Linked DNA regions of Homo sapiens: region 1 is linked to region 2. The links are contacts of gene promoters, found by promoter capture Hi-C in blood cells and fetal thymus (Javierre and others, 2016). All regions are on one chromosome and are shown on one strand. The core of a region is centred on a gene start or on the middle of the fragment in contact, and the rest is flanking DNA. Distances in the headings are between cores, read along the strand shown. Region 1 has its middle 170 kb from the start of SH3BP4. Region 2 holds the start of SPP2 (secreted phosphoprotein 2).

Region 1 (3,967 bases), core at 1,062-3,561, 1.1 Mb before region 2:
GTGGAGACAAGTAGAAGGATGTCCTTCGCAGTAATTTGGGGATAGTTGGAGGCAACCTAGGTGTTCATCGCTAGGGGAATAGATAAGAAAATGAAGTTGAGGCAGGTGAAGAAATAGCTGCCAGGCTTTGTGACAATACACCAGATATTGCAACAGTAACATAGGGAGATCTTAAGAGATATAATGAAAAGATAAGGAACCATTTAATGTAAAGCAAGGAACTATGTCGTTTACACTTTATGTGAATTAACTTCACCACCACTCCCCACCCCGCCCCCTGCCAACACACACACATTCACAAACTTATTTTCCAAAGACACATATCAAACCCTCTAGGGCAGCTCCATCTGAAGAAAGAACTAAGGAGGAGAGAATTGGAGAATGTGGAGGCGGGAAAAAAATGAATGTATTAAAAGCCAAGAGGGAGTCTTGTACAAATCATGGTGATGTTGTACCTTGAACTGAAGAGAATAACTAATTTAAATCTCTGCAACTGAAGTGCCAAAAAGAAAAGTAAAACAGAAAAGTATCTGTATGTTCTTAGCTTACAAAATCTTTGTTTTTATCAAGAATGGATCTGGCCCCCCCTCCGAAATCTCTTATTTCATTTGTTCCTTTTATCTACTTGATTAAATTTATTAAGAGAATAATTGTGTTTCACTGTATGACAATACCATAATTTATATATTCATTCTACTATTCAAGGATATTTGCATTGTTTTGCATTTTTAGCTTTACATTTAATGTTGCTATGAATGCTTTTGCGCATATATTTTGGTATATTTGTGCATGGGCCATAAAATATGTGTATATTCAATTTTAATAAATAATACTAAATAGATTTCCAAAGTGCTTATATCAATTTACTTACACTGCCACTAATAGTGCACATGAATTACTCCACATCCTCATCAACACTTAATGAAGTCAGTCTTTTAATTTCAGCTCATCTAGAATGTATTTAAGAATTTAGCTAATAAAATGGTAGTCTCTTACTGTGTTTTAAATTTGTATTTCTCTGGTAGCTAATGAAGTCGAAGTTCTTCTTAGATTCTTTTGGAAAGTTCCTGATCAAATTTTTTACACATTTTCCTTTTCATTGATCTTGAATATAAGCCTTTGGTCAAGTACATGGTTCACAAATATAAACATTTATATTTGTTGGTATTGCATTTTTATTCTTTTAAAGGTCTATTTTGGTAAACAGAAATGCTTAATGTCAATCATCAATTTATGTTTAATTTATCAATTATGTTCATTAGGTTTAGTGTCTTTTTAAAAATCTATTTCAGAAATCGGTTCTTACATCAAAGTCATGAAGATATTCTCCATCTTTAGTATTTCTTTTAGTGCAAGTCTACTGGATACAAATTTTCTCAGCTTTCATTTGTCAAAAATTCCTTATTTTGCTTTATTTTCATTAATATTTTCAATGTTTATAAAATTTTAGTTTGGCTGATACCTAGCCCTTTAAAGATGTCATTCCACTTGCTCCCATGAGTATGTTGTACAGTCAGCTGTAAGCTTTATTCTTGATCCTTTGAAAGTAAAGTATTCCCACTATTCCCGCCTGCTTTTAAGATTTTCATTTTGTCTTTGGTTTTCAGCAGCTTGACTAAGATGTGCCTATTCTAGTTATCTTGGGGTTTGCATAGACTCTTGAACCTGTGGGTTGTTGTCTTTCATTATATTTTAAAACATATACTTAGCCATTCTGTCTTCAAATATTATTTATGCTCTTTTCCCTCTTCTCCTTTGGGGACACAATATTCTGTATATGTACACAATATTCTGTACTGTTCATTCCATTATTTTTCTCTCTTTGCTTCAGTTTGAATAAATTCTATTCCTCCCCATCTTCTGTTATGTCCAGTGTACTGTTAAATTCATCTAATGAATTCTTCATTTCAAATATTGTATTTTTCAGTTCTAGACCGCCCAGTTGCTTTGTTCATATATATTCAATTATGTTGAAATTCTCTATATTTTCTCTTGTTTTTCCATGCCATCCTTTATTTTCTTGAATGGCTAATCAATTTTTAAAATTTCTCTTTGATAACTCCAATATCTAAATCACCTGTGAGACTATATATAATGTTTACATTTTTCTTAACGTTTGTTTCTCTTGGTCCTGTCTTTTTTACCATAACCTTTAATTTTTATATTTTATTTTGCTCATTGTAGATAAAAATTGTAGAGGCTCCGATAATGATGTTTTTCTTCAAAGAAAGTTTTTTTCTTCCTGTCAGGCAGTTCTCTATCAGTGAATCACCTTGGGTCCCATGGAGGCTTGATTTTCAGCTTTGTTAGAGGTGGTCTCTATTCCTCATGCAACGATTTAAAAAAATTCCCACAGGGAAAACAACCAGGGTTAATGTAGACATTATCTTGTGTGAGCACTATTCGCAATAGCAAAGACCTGGAACCAACCCAAATGTCCAACAATGATAGACTGGATTAAGAAAGTGTGGCACATACACACCATGGAATACTATGCAGCCATAAAAAATGATGAGTTCATGTCCTTTGTAGGGACATGGATGAAGCTGGAAACTATCATTATCAGCAAACTATTGCAAGGACAAAAAACCAAACATCGCATGTTCTCACTCATAGGTGGGAATTGAACAATGAGAACACATGGACACAGGAAGGGGAACATCACACACCGGGGCCTGTTGTGGAGTGGGGGGAGGGGGGAGGGATAGCATTAGGAGATATACCTAATGTAAATGACAAGTTAATGGGTGCAGCACACCAACATGGCACATGTATACATATGTAACAAACCTGCACGTTGTGCACATGTACCCTAGAACTTAAAGTATAATAAAAAAAAGAGAGAAAAAAAAAGAATACCAGAAAAGAAAAAAAAGAAATTATCTTGTGTGCTTCCCTTCTCTCACTCTCACAATTGTGCCTTTCAGTACTGTCTACATTAGTTGCTGCCCACTGCTTCACACAGTCATTTTGTACATTTTATTCAGCTTTTATAGGATTTTTTCTTGGCATGAAAGTTAGTCCAATTTAAGTCACTCCATTATGTCTGAAAGCAGACACTTGATTTGTCTCAATTAGAGATATTTTACAAAGCTTTTATGGCCTCACTTTTTACATGCCTGATTGGAATATAGAATGTTGGCGTTGTGAGTATGTGCGTGTGTATTTGTATATACACATACTTCTACTGCTTTCATGCTTCTGTTAATTACTCCTTGTATTTCAGTTTTTGCTTTATGTATTTTTAAAGCTGTAGATGGCACTTTCTATAAATTTAAATGTCCAATTTTGTCTCAAGTATTTTTTCTAGCCATTGCTGTCATAAAATTTCTTTCTCTCGCTAGTAGTTTGGTAGCCTGGAAAAAATAGGAGTGGAGAAACTCCAGAGACCATAATAGCAGGGAGAGTTACCACCTTACCACTTTGTTTCTTATCGTCTTTGCCAAACCATCCAAACATTTATCTGTTTTGTTCACCGTTGCCTGTCATGCTTTCCATATAGAATAAACTTTTAATGTTATTTAATTGTAACTTCTCTTTTAATCAGCAGTCTATTGTGGTTTTGTATTCTAATAGAAGATGGAAGCCTTTGCCTTTTAATAAATAGCACTTATTACGTGTCAGATTTTATGCTTTTTTTTTCAGTCACCTTGATATTTCTTTTTTGTTATTCCATTTACTCTAGGAAACTGTGATTCACTTCCCCATGTAAAACTGATCCCCAGGCATTCAATCTATTCCTTAGTCGTTAGTGGTTGCCCACTAAGTTTCAAGCGAGGAGACAGCTTCCTGACTTTCAATCCATTAATACATTTTGATCACAGTCCCACCACTTAACTATCTTTGTCATCTCAGGTAAGGTCCTCAGTTTTGTCACCTCTAGAACAAATCAATTAAACAAAATGATTTGTTCTCTACAAGTATAAAGGTTTAAAAGATAGTATTCCACTAGGCTTTTTTGCTTATT
Region 2 (3,936 bases), core at 1,052-3,551:
CTCTCCTGAGGGCTTTGCCTTTTAGTGTATCCCTCATGTCTGCTAGGGTAGAGAGAATTGGTATATTTGGAGCCATCTATAGGGTGTTTATAGAAGACATGGTTAATACACACAACATAAATCAAAATATGAAACACTCCCAATAGAAAAAAATATCACCAGGAGAGATCAAAGGAAGAGAATCTCCCTTCCAGTGGGAGAAGAAATAGAGTTCTCAACAAGAGGGCACGGTGACTGTAGCTTGACCAATGAATTTGAATAATCAGAAAAGGCAGGGAGAGGCAAGAATAGGCAGACCTCCAGGTAAAGGAGCAGTGTACTTGAGGTGGAGAGGCAACATTTTTCATGTGCTCATCAAGAGTCACACACATCGCATATAATTGTATCTATTTTTAGGTGCATGTGCGTCTGGGCTCAAGTCTGGGTGACTATACCAAGATGGCACATGAGCCAGAACACGCTCTGGTGGCTGTGCCTCACAATAGCTCATCTCCACAGGGCAGATTTCCACGGTGTCAGTAATTGGTTCTCTTGGGATCTATCCTCATGCTCTTATTCATCTAATAAACTGCTAACTTTCTTCTGTGGTGAGCAATAGCTAAATCAAAAGTAAATTTAAACTGTTCATCTGCAAGGTTGGCAAAAAGACCCCGATTCCACACCACCACAAGTGGATTTCATTAAATGCCAATGGAAACTGGCATTTGAAATACAATACAAGCAAGGAAAGGGGGTTCTGTATTCTGATCCAGGAGCAGCTCAACCTTTGGTGTGGCAGCTGACCAGTGCCTCCACACCACAACATCCAGAGCAAGTGACTCCACTCTGGCCATGATTCTGGAATGGCACCTAAAAAAAAGCATAGCCCATAGTCTTCATGAACTATAATCAAACTAGAAAATAAAACTGGGTCCTTTTGATTCATTTCCCTTGAAATTTGGAAAAGAGAAACTAGGAGCCAGGTTCTGAGGAAGATCAAGCTGAATATGTTGTATTTGGAGACTAGAACTAGGAAATCATGAGCCATGTGCTCTACAGAGTAGCAGAGGGAACAAGCTAAGAGTCAGTCCAGGAGGGATGGGAGAAGGCAGCAGGCAGACAGAGAGAAAGCAATGTCCATCTGGCCTCTGCTGCCTGGACCTTCAGCCGTGTCTTCATTCTCATTCCCATGCTGCCTGGCTATACAGAGCCTTCATTCCTAAGATGTGCAACTTTATAGAACCTCTCTACCTCCCACCTTAACCTAAATTTGCTTGAAAATATGTTCATCCCTACCTCCAAATGAGCCCCATGCAGATGATAATAAGGCAGTGAAATTACCTGGGGAACAGGAAGAAGGGAGATGACTTGCTGCTTATGTTTCTCATTTCCTTTGAAGGATATTTTTACATTTCTTTCCTTGCATATCACAGACTTAGTCATTGGAAGCCCAAGTGATTACTCTTTCTTTAGCTCCCAAAGCTAAGAGGAAACAGACTATTACCAAATTGACAAGGAAAGGTGAATTTCTTTGACTCAAAAGCCAGATTATTTCCAGTAAGTATTAGGAGCAGAACTGCTGAATTTGAAAGGAGGCTCATTTCCAATAAATGAGAAGTTCGTAATAAAACACCTCAGAAAGAATCGCGAGGACTTCAAGTACAAAAGCAGGCTGCAGGGAACCAGAAGACAAGGTTAGAGAGGAGAATACAGCAGAAGAATCAGTCATCAAAAGTGGTTTGGATAGCCTCATGACAAAAAATTGTAATTAAATCTTTCTCTGTCAAAGAAAAGAGACAGTATGAAAGAGATGACTAGCTACTATCATTTTTAAACTGGAGAAAATTTCTTAAAAGTATATCCAATGAACTGACAAAAGGCAGACAGCATTGGAAGGAGGAGTAGAGAAGATTTCATTTTGCACTTACTCTTTTTAATGAGCTTCTGAATGCCCGAAACAGATACGGACTCAGTGACTGGGAATTCACTTTTACCACAGAGGCACTGAGGGCATCCCTTAAGGAGGATGGATCGTAGTCGTACACTGGGAAACCTGGACACGCAAGCACATGGGGCACAGTGAGACAAGACACAGGCGCCAGCATGGCTCTGCATGATCCAGAGCAGGTGGCCAGGTTGGTGAATACCTTACCTGAGCAAGACCAGTAGTTCATTCCAAGAGCAAACATAATCAATATCTTCATCATCATCGTCATCTTCTCCATTCTGGAAATCATGATTGTAATCGAGAGACAGAGAGTGTCTCTCTATGTGTTTGGGGATGACAGTTCTTCCTAAGAGGAGCTGTCTTTATCAAACACTGGCTGCTTATTTTGACTGCAGCAATCTGTAACTTAAACAGAAACAATTGATCCTGGGGTCAATATTTTCTGCTGACTTTTCCTATGGAAAGGTTCCAGTTTGAGGACACTTTTGAAGTTTACAACTCACAAGAGAACTTTAGCCCAAGGCAAAAGGCATCAAGAGGCTCAGGATTCCACGTGTGCTGTTTATTTTTCTCTATTTTAATTTCATTCTTTGGAGGGGATATAATCTTACATTCAACAAAATGGTTAATCTTAAATTGTTGTGTATTGAGATCCCCTCATGGTTCTAAAGATCTTGCAGTTGACTACTTATGAAAATAGTGTGGGTATAAGATCTTCTTGGAAATTATGACTTTGGAGAAGATAATTTTATATAGGGGTCCTAAATATTCGAAGCAAGTACAAGTGCAGTAAAAAGCTGGGACACACCATCCTATTAACCAATCTTCTGTGCTACTGGACACTTTTGCACATCACCTGGATAATAAGGTATTTACATATTGATGATTCCCATGCACTGTAAGATCCCAAGGTAGTTTTTGAATGATTAAAAAGGAGAACTACTTAATTGGAAGTACAGTTTGTGTTGTATGTAGGTCATTGTGTTCTTATTTGTGGATTTCACGCATAAGAAGCTGTGTTTTGTCTCAGAAAGACCTGGACTGAGATCTTGGCTCTACCATGTACCAGGAGTATCCCCTTGGGCATGGCACTCAACACCTCTGAACCTCAATTTTCTCATCTATAAAATAGGCATAAATGGTTAGAGGTCAGGTGTGTTCTTAGTCAGGGTTCTCCAGAAAGGAGAACCAAAATATAGAGGGAAAGAAAAAGAGAGATTTTTTAAATATATACTTTAAGTTCTGGGGCACATGTGCAGAACCTTCAGGTTTGTTACATAGGTATACATGTGCCATGGTTGTTTGCTGCACCCATCAACCCATCATCTACATTAGGTATTTCTCCTAATACTATCCCTCCCCCAGCCCCCCACCCCCCAACAGGCCCCGGTGTGTGATGTTCCTCTCCCTGTGTCCATTTGTTCTCATTGTTCAACTCCCACTTATGAGTGAGAACATGTGGTGTTTGGTTTTCTGTTCTTGTGTTAGTTTGCTGAGATTGATGGTTTCCAGCTTCATCCACGTCCCTACAAAGGACATGAACTCATCCCTTTTTATGGCTGCTTAGTATTCCATGGTGTATATGTGCCACATTTTCTTTATCCAGTCTATCATTGACAGGTATTTGGGTTGGTTCCAAGTCTTTGCTATTGTGAACAGTGCCACAATAAACATACCTGTGCATGTGTCTTTATAGTAGAATGATTTATAATCCTTTGTGTACATACCCAGTAATGGGATTGCTGGGTCAAATGGTATTTCTAGTTCTAGATCCTTGAGGAATTGCCACACTGTCTTCCACAATGGTTGAACTAATTCACACTCCCACCAACAGTGTAAAAGTGTTACTATTTCTCCACATCCTCTCCAGCATCTGTTGTTTCCTGACTTTTTAAGGATCGCCATTCTAACTGGCGTGAGATGATATCTCATTGTGGTTTTGATTTGCATTTCTCTAATCACCAATGATGATGAGCATTTTTTCATGTGAGTGTTGGCTGCATAAATGT

Evidence for each region. Contacts are between HindIII fragments. The CHiCAGO score rates a contact against its expected background, and 5 or more counts as called.
Region 1: a fragment that was not itself captured here is called in contact with the fragment with the promoter of SPP2 in region 2 in 1 of 17 cell types (endothelial precursors); the score reaches 5.4 in endothelial precursors.

Annotation. Positions count from the first base shown.
Region 1 is chr2:235,117,547-235,121,513 of GRCh38, reverse strand. No RefSeq gene overlaps it. Among named protein-coding and RNA genes, the nearest start is that of SH3BP4, 170 kb to the right of the region's middle. The HindIII fragment of the contact is 1,569 bases long and covers 1,527-3,095 here.
Region 2 is chr2:234,049,067-234,053,002 of GRCh38, reverse strand. It overlaps SPP2 (secreted phosphoprotein 2), which reads right to left and starts at 2,301. Exons shown (of 8, transcript NM_006944.3): 1 at 2,132-2,301; 2 at 1,908-2,032. The coding sequence starts at 2,216. The HindIII fragment of the contact is 10,293 bases long and covers 1-3,936 here.